2 separate regions of the Homo sapiens genome follow, and region 1 is linked to region 2. The links are contacts of gene promoters, found by promoter capture Hi-C in human tissues and cell types (Jung and others, 2019). All regions are on one chromosome and are shown on one strand. Each heading gives the region's core, a stretch centred on a gene start or on the middle of the fragment in contact. The rest is flanking DNA. Distances are from core to core; before and after follow the strand shown.

Region 1 (3,953 bases), core at 540-3,039, 930 kb after region 2:
ATGAGCCATATCTCTCCCCACTGCCTTCAGCTCTGGGGAACAAGACACAGGTATGGTCACAGTGGCTTTGAACTCCAGAATCCTTCACCCCATTCATTTCCCGCAAAGTTCCTGGAACCCTAGGTCTCCTGTTTCTCCCCAACCCTGATGAGCCCATGGCTCAGTGTTGATTTTCCTCAGTGATACACCAGGGTCTGCTGAAAAAGTGGCTAATTAAGACTCCCAAACTACTCCTGGCCTATCAAAACTGCTCCTGCCCCAGTCCCTGCCTTGCTCTGAGAAGGACATTTTATCTTTATCCTGGACCACCTTAAGTACTCACATGTCCCAGTTCCTCATGCCAGCATCTCTATCAGTCAGCTTCTGCTGTGTAACAAACCATCCTCAATCTTAGGGCTTAAAGCAATACTGATTTATTATTCTCATGACTTTGTGATCAGATGGGCAGTTCCTCCAGTCTGGGCCAGATCAGGTGAGGCTGGATGGTTTAGGGTGGCCTTACTCACGTCTGGAGTCTCAACCAGAACAGCTAGAATTCTCACCTCCTTCAGCAGATTCTCCCAGAGTCCCTCAGGGGCAAAGTCAACCACATGACCCACTCATGGGAATAGCTACAGGGAGCAGTGATCCCTAGGGAGCCATTGCTGGAACAATCTACCACAGCCTCTATATCTGTGAGCCTCTCACCTCCAGGCCATGCTGGTCACCAAATGCCAGACAATCATCTGGATCTTGCCAGAATGGCAGATTCACCCTCTGCCATTTTTTTTTTCCAAGATAGTTTTGCTCTTGTTGCCCAGGCTAGAGTAAGTGCAATGGTGCGATCTTGGCTCACCGCAACCTCCGCCTCCTGGGTTCAAGCGATTCTTCTGCCTCAGCCTCCAAAGTAGCTGGGATTACAGGCATGCGCCACCATGCCCGGCTAATTTTGTATTTTTAGTAGAGACGGAGTTTTTCCATGTTGGTCAGGCTGGTCTCAAACTCCCGACCTCAGATGATCTGCCTGCCTCGGCCTCCCAAAGTGCTGGGATTACAGACATGAGCCACCACGCCCAGCCTCCCTCTGCCATCTTAACTAAGCCTCATCTTTCCCTCCTGCCTGTCCCTCTCCCAGGCTGACCGCAGCACCCCCACTCCTGTACTACCATCCTGAACTCAGGCCCTCTGCCCCTCAGCGCTATCTGGCTAACTCTTTCTTGCTTGCCACACTAGCCTGGGAAACATCAGGCCTGGATCAATCCTCATGACCAAGTTCCCCAAACTCCTGATCAAACAGCAGCTGGGCCCCCAGCACCTCCTGAGTGGCAACCAATCTGCCTTCCCATGTGGGCTCTCCCTGTCCCCATGATGGCCAGGAGCTGTCAAATCTGACTCCTCCCCACTTTCTCTGAGCAGATGACTGGCCTCACGGTACCCCCTGCTTTACTTCAAAGTTCCCTCTGGCACATTTTATATCAATTGGTTGGTTTATATCTGTCTGCTTTTTAGAATTTAAGCTCCATGGCCGGGCGCAGTGGCTCACGCCTGTAATTCCAGCACTTTCGAAGGCTGAGGCACGCGGATCACAAGGTCAGGAGATCGAGACCATCCTGGCTAACACGGTGAAACCTTGTCTCTACTAAAAATGCAAAAAAAAAATTAGCCGGGCATGGTGGTGGGTGCCTGTAGTCCCAGCTACTCGGGAGGCTGAGGCAGGAGAATGGTGTGAACCCAGGAAGCGAAGCATGCAATGAGCCAAGATCGCACCACTGCACTCCAGCCTGGGCAACAGAGCAAGACTCCATCTCAAAAAAAAAAAAAAAAAAAAGAATTTAAGCTCCATGAGAATAAGGTAGTTTTTTGGTTTTTGTCTTTTGAGATAGGGTCTTGCTTTGTCACTCAGGCCGGAGTAGAGAGGCACAACCACAGCTCAAGAGATCCTCCCACCTCAGCTTCCTGAGTAGCTGGGACTACAGGCATGAGCCATCATGCTATCATGCTAAGTTTTTAAAATTTTTTGTAGAGATGGGGTTTCACCATGTTGCCCAGGCTGGTCTCAAACTCCTGGGCTCAAGTGATCCTCCCACCTCAGCCTCCTAAAGTACTAAATTACAGGCATGAGCCACCACACCTGGCCTGGTTTCTATCCTTTACTGCTATATCTTCAGCACTACAACTATGCCAGACATGTGGGGGTAGGGTTGGAGGGTCCCTCAATAAATGTGGTTTTGTTTTTGTTTTTGAGACAGTGTCTCCCTCTGGTTGCCCAGGCTGGAGTGCAGTGGAATGATCTCAGCTCACTGCAGCCTCGACCTCCTGGGCTCAGGTGATTCTCCCACCTCAGCCTCTCGAGGAGCTGGGACTAAAGGCACATGCCACCATGCCCAGCTAATTTTTTCTATTTTTTTTTTAGTAGACAGAGGGTTTCATGATGCTGCCCAAGCTTATCTCAAACTCCTAGACTCAAGCAATTTGGCCTCCTCGGCCTCCCAAAGTGTTGGGATTACAGGCGTGAGCCACCATACCCGGCCTAGTATTTATTTAATGCATGAACCAAAGAACAAGCCCACAGCACACAGAGCTCAGTGAGGATGGTATGTTAAGCTTGCTGTTACCTGCAGCCACTCTGTTCTTTACAGCCTCCTCCCTCCAGGACAGGAAAGGGCCTGAGGGCAGTCCCTGGGAATGAGCAAGACCTCAGGCAAGAGAGGGCATGGGGTACAAGCCCCTGGAGCCTCACAGGCGTCAGCTCAGAGTGTAGCCAGTCAACGCCCTGCATGTGAATAACCCACTGGTGGTTTGTTAAAAATCCCTTTTTGCAGGCTCCACCCCAGGTACCTGACTCAGAGGGCCCAGGAATTTTCATCATTAGCCTGCAGCGCACTGCATTTGAGTTTGACAAAGTTGTTCCACCGAGTCTTGGTGTGAGCTATAGGAGACAAGGTAATGCAGCCTCCATCCTCACCGTGGGGCACAGGTCATCCACCTTGGGTGACCAAGGACTGTAGGGAGCGGCCAGTGACAGACCTTGGGGAAGAAGTTGGGGAGGGGATAGGCTCCATGCTGACAAATCACAAAAGCTCAGGGCGTGAGTTAGGTGTGGTTCATCCATGGAACCTGCAGGTGCATGCAGCCCAGCCACATGGGCTGCGGGGTGCGGGGTGCAGGGTGGGAAGCACAGAGCCCCCGCCCCTCCTCGGCTTTAGATCAAGAACTGGGACACTGCCAGGACCAAGCACGGCATGCCTGCATGTGAATGGACAGGAGTAGGGGGACTGTAGGCGGGAGCTCAGCAGGGAGAAAGGGGTGTGTCTGAGGCCAGACACATCTGAACTCTGGCACCCTAATTAACTCAGTCCCCATCCCTCTAGAGTTGGCCGCATCTCTTGCCCCAGGTGAGGACCTGCCCCAAGTCTGCTCAACCTCTGCCCACAGGGATGTTCATGTGCCTGTCCCATGAAGCCTGCTGCTGAAAACATCAATTCCTCATTTAGACATTCTCAGACTTGGCATCTTCCCCTCTTCAATCCCCAGTGACTCTTCCCAACCACCTGCCAAGCACTGTGCTCTGTAGCCACAACCCTAGGGATTTAGGGCCACAAGGGCAGAGGCTCTGGCCCATCCTGGCCTCCTGCTCAGCCTTGGCCAATGGGGCTAGAGGGTTCTGCCCAGCTGCCTTCACCCCTCTTCCTTGCTTACTGGTCTGACCTGGGGGCCACGCTCAGCTTGAGGCAGGGGCTTGTTAATGGGCAGGTGAGCCACCCAAGGCAAGGGCCAGGCAAGGCCCTACTGCACCAACCCATCGTCCTCCTCCGCCCCCAGTCTCTGCCCACCCCCGCCCAACCCCATGGCTATTAATACTCAGAGCTTTGCAGAGATGCCCACTGGGTGCAGAGACGAGAGAAATTGCTCTCATCTCATTGTGCCCCTCTGTGGAAACAGGGTCAAGGGCTCAGGCCTGGGCTGTGCCGATA
Region 2 (3,952 bases), core at 508-3,007:
ACATCCCTGGCAGGATTCAGCTCCCATCAGACCTTCTAGCCCCTTGCTCTCCACTCTCCCACTCTCTCTTTCCCCCTTGTTTATGGGTTTGTTAATTTATTTATGATGAAATGAAATGAAGCTACCATCCACCCCAGTACTGGAACATTATCAATAACCTGTGTGTGGCCAGGCGTGGTGGCTCATGCCTGTAATCACGCCTTGGGAAGCCGAGGTGGGTGGATCATGTGAGGTCAGGTGTTCGAGACCAGCCTGGCCAACATGGTGAAACCCCGTCTCTACTACAAATCCAAAACTTAGCAGGGCACGGTGCCACGCGCCTGTAATCCCAGCTACTCGGGACGCTGAGGCCGAGAACTGCTTAAAATCCAGGAGGTGGAGGTTGCAGTGAGCCGAGATTTCGCCACTGCACTCCAGCCTGGGCGACAGAGCAAGAGTCCATCTCAAAAAAACAAAAACAAAAACAAAAAAACAAAAAACAAAAATTAGCCAGGCGTGGTTGTGGGCGCCTATAATCCCAGCTACTCGGGAGGCTGAGACAGGAAAATCGCTTGAAACGCTGGGGGTGCGGGGGAGCGGTGGGGAGGAGGCGGGCCAGAGGGGCAGAGGTTGCAGTGAGCCCAGATCGCGCCACTTCACTGCAGCCTCCGCGAAAGAGCGAAACTCCGTCTCAGTAAATAAATAAATAAATAAATAAATAAATAAATAAATAAATAAATAACCTGTACCCGCGTGTTATTTCCCTCCGTCCTTACCTCCTCCCGGCTCCTTCCCTTTCACCTGAGATAACCACTCTTCTCGTATCTATGCTCATCTTTCCCTTGCTTTACATTTTTTCCACCGATGCATGTGTCTAAACATACATACTTTTGGTTTTGCTTTTACACATTCTAAAAGTTGCACCATTGTATGCAGTTTTCCGCAACTTAGTTTTTTTCACTCAACATTGTTTCTGAGACATTGTTTCTGTTGTTGTCTGGCTGAAGTTCATTCCGTTTCACTGCTGTCTAACGTTTCATGGTGTGAATATTCCGGTTTATTTGCCCACTCGCCCGTGGAGGGGCATTTGAGGGTGTTTCCAATGTTCCTGTTATTCGGAATAGCGCTGGTGTGAACATTCTGCACAGGTCTCTGGCTGCGCCTGGGCGGGTTTCTTAAAGGTGAATGCCCAGGAGGGGACTGTCTGTGTTCTCCCTCCCTCCGAGCTCCAGCCTTCCTCGCCTCCTTTCACTCCCAGCTCCCTGGAGTCTCTCACGTAGAATGTCCTCTCCACCCCCACCCACCCCTGATGAACTCCTGCAGGTTCTGCAGGCCACGGCTGGCCCCCCTCGAAAGTTCCTTAACTATACAATTATGGTGTGTGTTTCTGCGACGAGCGTCCGTCTATCCGGTGGAAGGCACGCCGCTCGAGGCTTGCGATGCTCCCGGGGTCCCCGCTTCTAGCTTGGGCCTGGCGCACAGCAGCGCCCAGACTGCAGGGGGACGCTTGAAAGTTGCTGGAGGAGCCGGGGGGAAGGCAGCGCCCAGCGAGGCGGCTGGAGCGCGCGCCCACAGGTGGGTCCGGTCGGGCGCCGCGGGGCCGTAGTTTTCGGGTCGGCGGGCGAGGACGCCGGGTCCAGAATTCCAGGAAATGCGCGATCCAGGCCGGCGGGCGGGGCGGGGGCTCCGGCGAGAGGGCGGGCCCCGGGAACGGCGGCGGGCGGGGCGGGAGGCGGGGCCCGGCCCGTTAAGAAGAGCGTGGCCGGCCGCGGCCACCGCTGGCCCCAGGGAAAGCCGAGCGGCCACCGAGCCGGCAGAGACCCACCGAGCGGCGGCGGAGGGAGCAGCGCCGGGGCGCACGAGGGCACCATGGCCCAGACGCCCGCCTTCGACAAGCCCAAAGTGAGCGCGCGCGGGGGCTCCGGGGACGGGGGTCCGGCGCCTGGGCGGCCCGAGGGGCTTAGCGGGGCCCAGCCCGGGGCGTCCAAACCCTGGGAACGAACGGGGGCTCCTGCAGGCGAGTTCTTCCTTCGGCTTAGGCCGTGGCTTGCTTGCGGGCTAATCAGGGACAATGGGGCAGAGAAGGTCCAGAACCCGGAGGCCTCCAGAGTCTGCTTCTGCCCCTGACTTGACCCCTCTGGGTCTCAGTTTCGCTGTCTGTCAAGTGGGCATCCTAGCACCGCTGAGCGCTGTGTGGGCCTGGGCAGGGACTTGAGGTCTCTGAAGCTCAGCTGTATGATCAGGCCCGATGTCTACGCCGGATAGGCACCTAGTGCTGTGCCCGGCGCCTACTGAGTGCTCAGTGAATGGAAGCAGCTTTGTACGCCAGCGTTATGGTGGTGAGCGCCAAGGAGCTCAGGTTTGTGGATGCGCCCCGGGGAAGAACCGTGAGCCCTGCCAGAAAGGGGAGGGAGGGGAGCAGAGCACCCCCCTTCCCCCGCGCGGGAAGAACAGGAGCTAGGTAGGCCCTGGGTTTGGGGCCCTAGCAGGGTTCACTCGAGGCCAAGCCATGGCCACTGGCCCCAGGGGAGAATCCCCTTGTTTCTCCGCCCACCAGCTGTGGCGTCTTGGGACTGTTGGGGTCAGGGAGGGTCTGGACCCCCTTGGCCTGTCGCAGAGTCCGAGAGGAGGGGCCCAGGAGTCTGCCAAGCAGGGTGAGTCAGCCAGTAGGGTGTGAGAGTGGTTGGGGAAGGAGTCAGCTGCAGTCAGCCTCAACTTACCCTTCTAAGAAATAGGTGTGAGTGGCCCAGGAGGTTGGCTCACGCCTGTAATCCCAGCACTTTGTGAGGCTGAGGCGGGAGGATCATTTGAGTCCAGGAGTTTGAGACTAGCCTGGACAACAAAACTAGACCCCGTCTCTCCAAAAAATAAAAAAAGTTAGGGGAAGTGTGTGTGGTGGTGCACTCCCGTAGTCCCAGCTACTCAGGAGGCTGAGGCGGGAGGATCGCTTGAGCCCAGGAGGTTGAGGCTGCAGTGAGGTGTGATGGTGCCACTGCACTTCAGCCTGGGAGACAGAGCGAGACCCTGTCTCAAAAAAAAGAGAAGAAAAAGAAAAGAAAAGAAATAGGTGTGAATGATGATGACAGCTATCACAAAAGTGCCGGTGAGAATCCAGTGAGTGTGCATGTGTCAGTGAGGGAGACAGGCTGTGGAGAGCCCACCTACCTTCTGAGGAGGGTGAGGCCTGGCCCCCACTACTGATGCCCCCAGCCCAGGGAAAATGCTCAGCTACTCCCCGTCAGAAGCTGGAAGCACTGAGGTGCTGTACAAGCCCTCCTACCCCCACCCCTGCCTCCTTCACGTCTTACTGGAGCTGGGGCCCATGATTGGCGCCTCCCCTTTGCAGTCTTTTTATTAAATGCTCTGGGCTCCCTCTGCCCTTGGGCTGGGGACCCACTGTACCCTGATGTGAATCCTATGGCAATAGCAAAGCTCTTTGATTGGCGGGGTGCAGTGGCTCACGCCTATAATCCCAGCACTTTGGGAGGCAAAGGTGGGTGGATCATGAGGCCAGGAGTTCGAGACCAGCCTGGCCAACATGGCAAAACCCCATTTCTACTAAAAATATAAAAAATTAGCTGGGCATGGTGGCGGGCGCCTGTAGTCCCAGCTACGCAGAAGGCTGAGGCAGGAGAATGGCATAAACCCAGGAGGTGGAGCTTGCAGTGAGCCGAGATCTCGCCATTGCACTCCAGCCTGGGTGACAGAGTGAGACGCTGTCTCAAAAAAAAAAAAAAAAAAAAAAAGGCTCCTTGATTGCGAACATGTTGGGAGTTATGGAGAGAACAGCAGGGCCCACTTCTAGAGCACTTGTTGCAGACACCCATTGGATCCTTGCAGTTCTTCTGTAACAGCCCATCAAGGGAGGGGCTCATATTATTATCCCCATTTTTTGGCCTTGCTCAGTCCTCCCATCTGATTCAAGCTGGCAGATCATTTTCCCTATTGGGACCTCAGTGTCCACACCTGGAGG

What was found. Contacts are between HindIII fragments. The study calls those that stand out against the background at their distance.
Region 1: a fragment that was not itself captured here is called in contact with the fragment with the promoter of ADA in region 2 in 1 of the 25 tissues and cell types used here (pancreas).

The regions. Positions count from the first base shown.
Region 1 is chr20:43,716,595-43,720,547 of GRCh38, reverse strand. No RefSeq gene overlaps it. Among named protein-coding and RNA genes, the nearest start is that of GTSF1L, 8.4 kb to the left of the region's middle. RefSeq lists a silencer at 1-133. The HindIII fragment of the contact is 4,595 bases long and covers 1-3,953 here.
Region 2 is chr20:44,649,504-44,653,455 of GRCh38, reverse strand. ADA (adenosine deaminase) reads left to right here and starts at 1,757. Exons shown (of 12, transcript NM_000022.4): 1 at 1,757-1,881. The coding sequence starts at 1,849. RefSeq lists a silencer at 1,559-1,948 and enhancers at 985-1,968, 2,199-2,308. The HindIII fragment of the contact is 13,377 bases long and covers 1-3,952 here.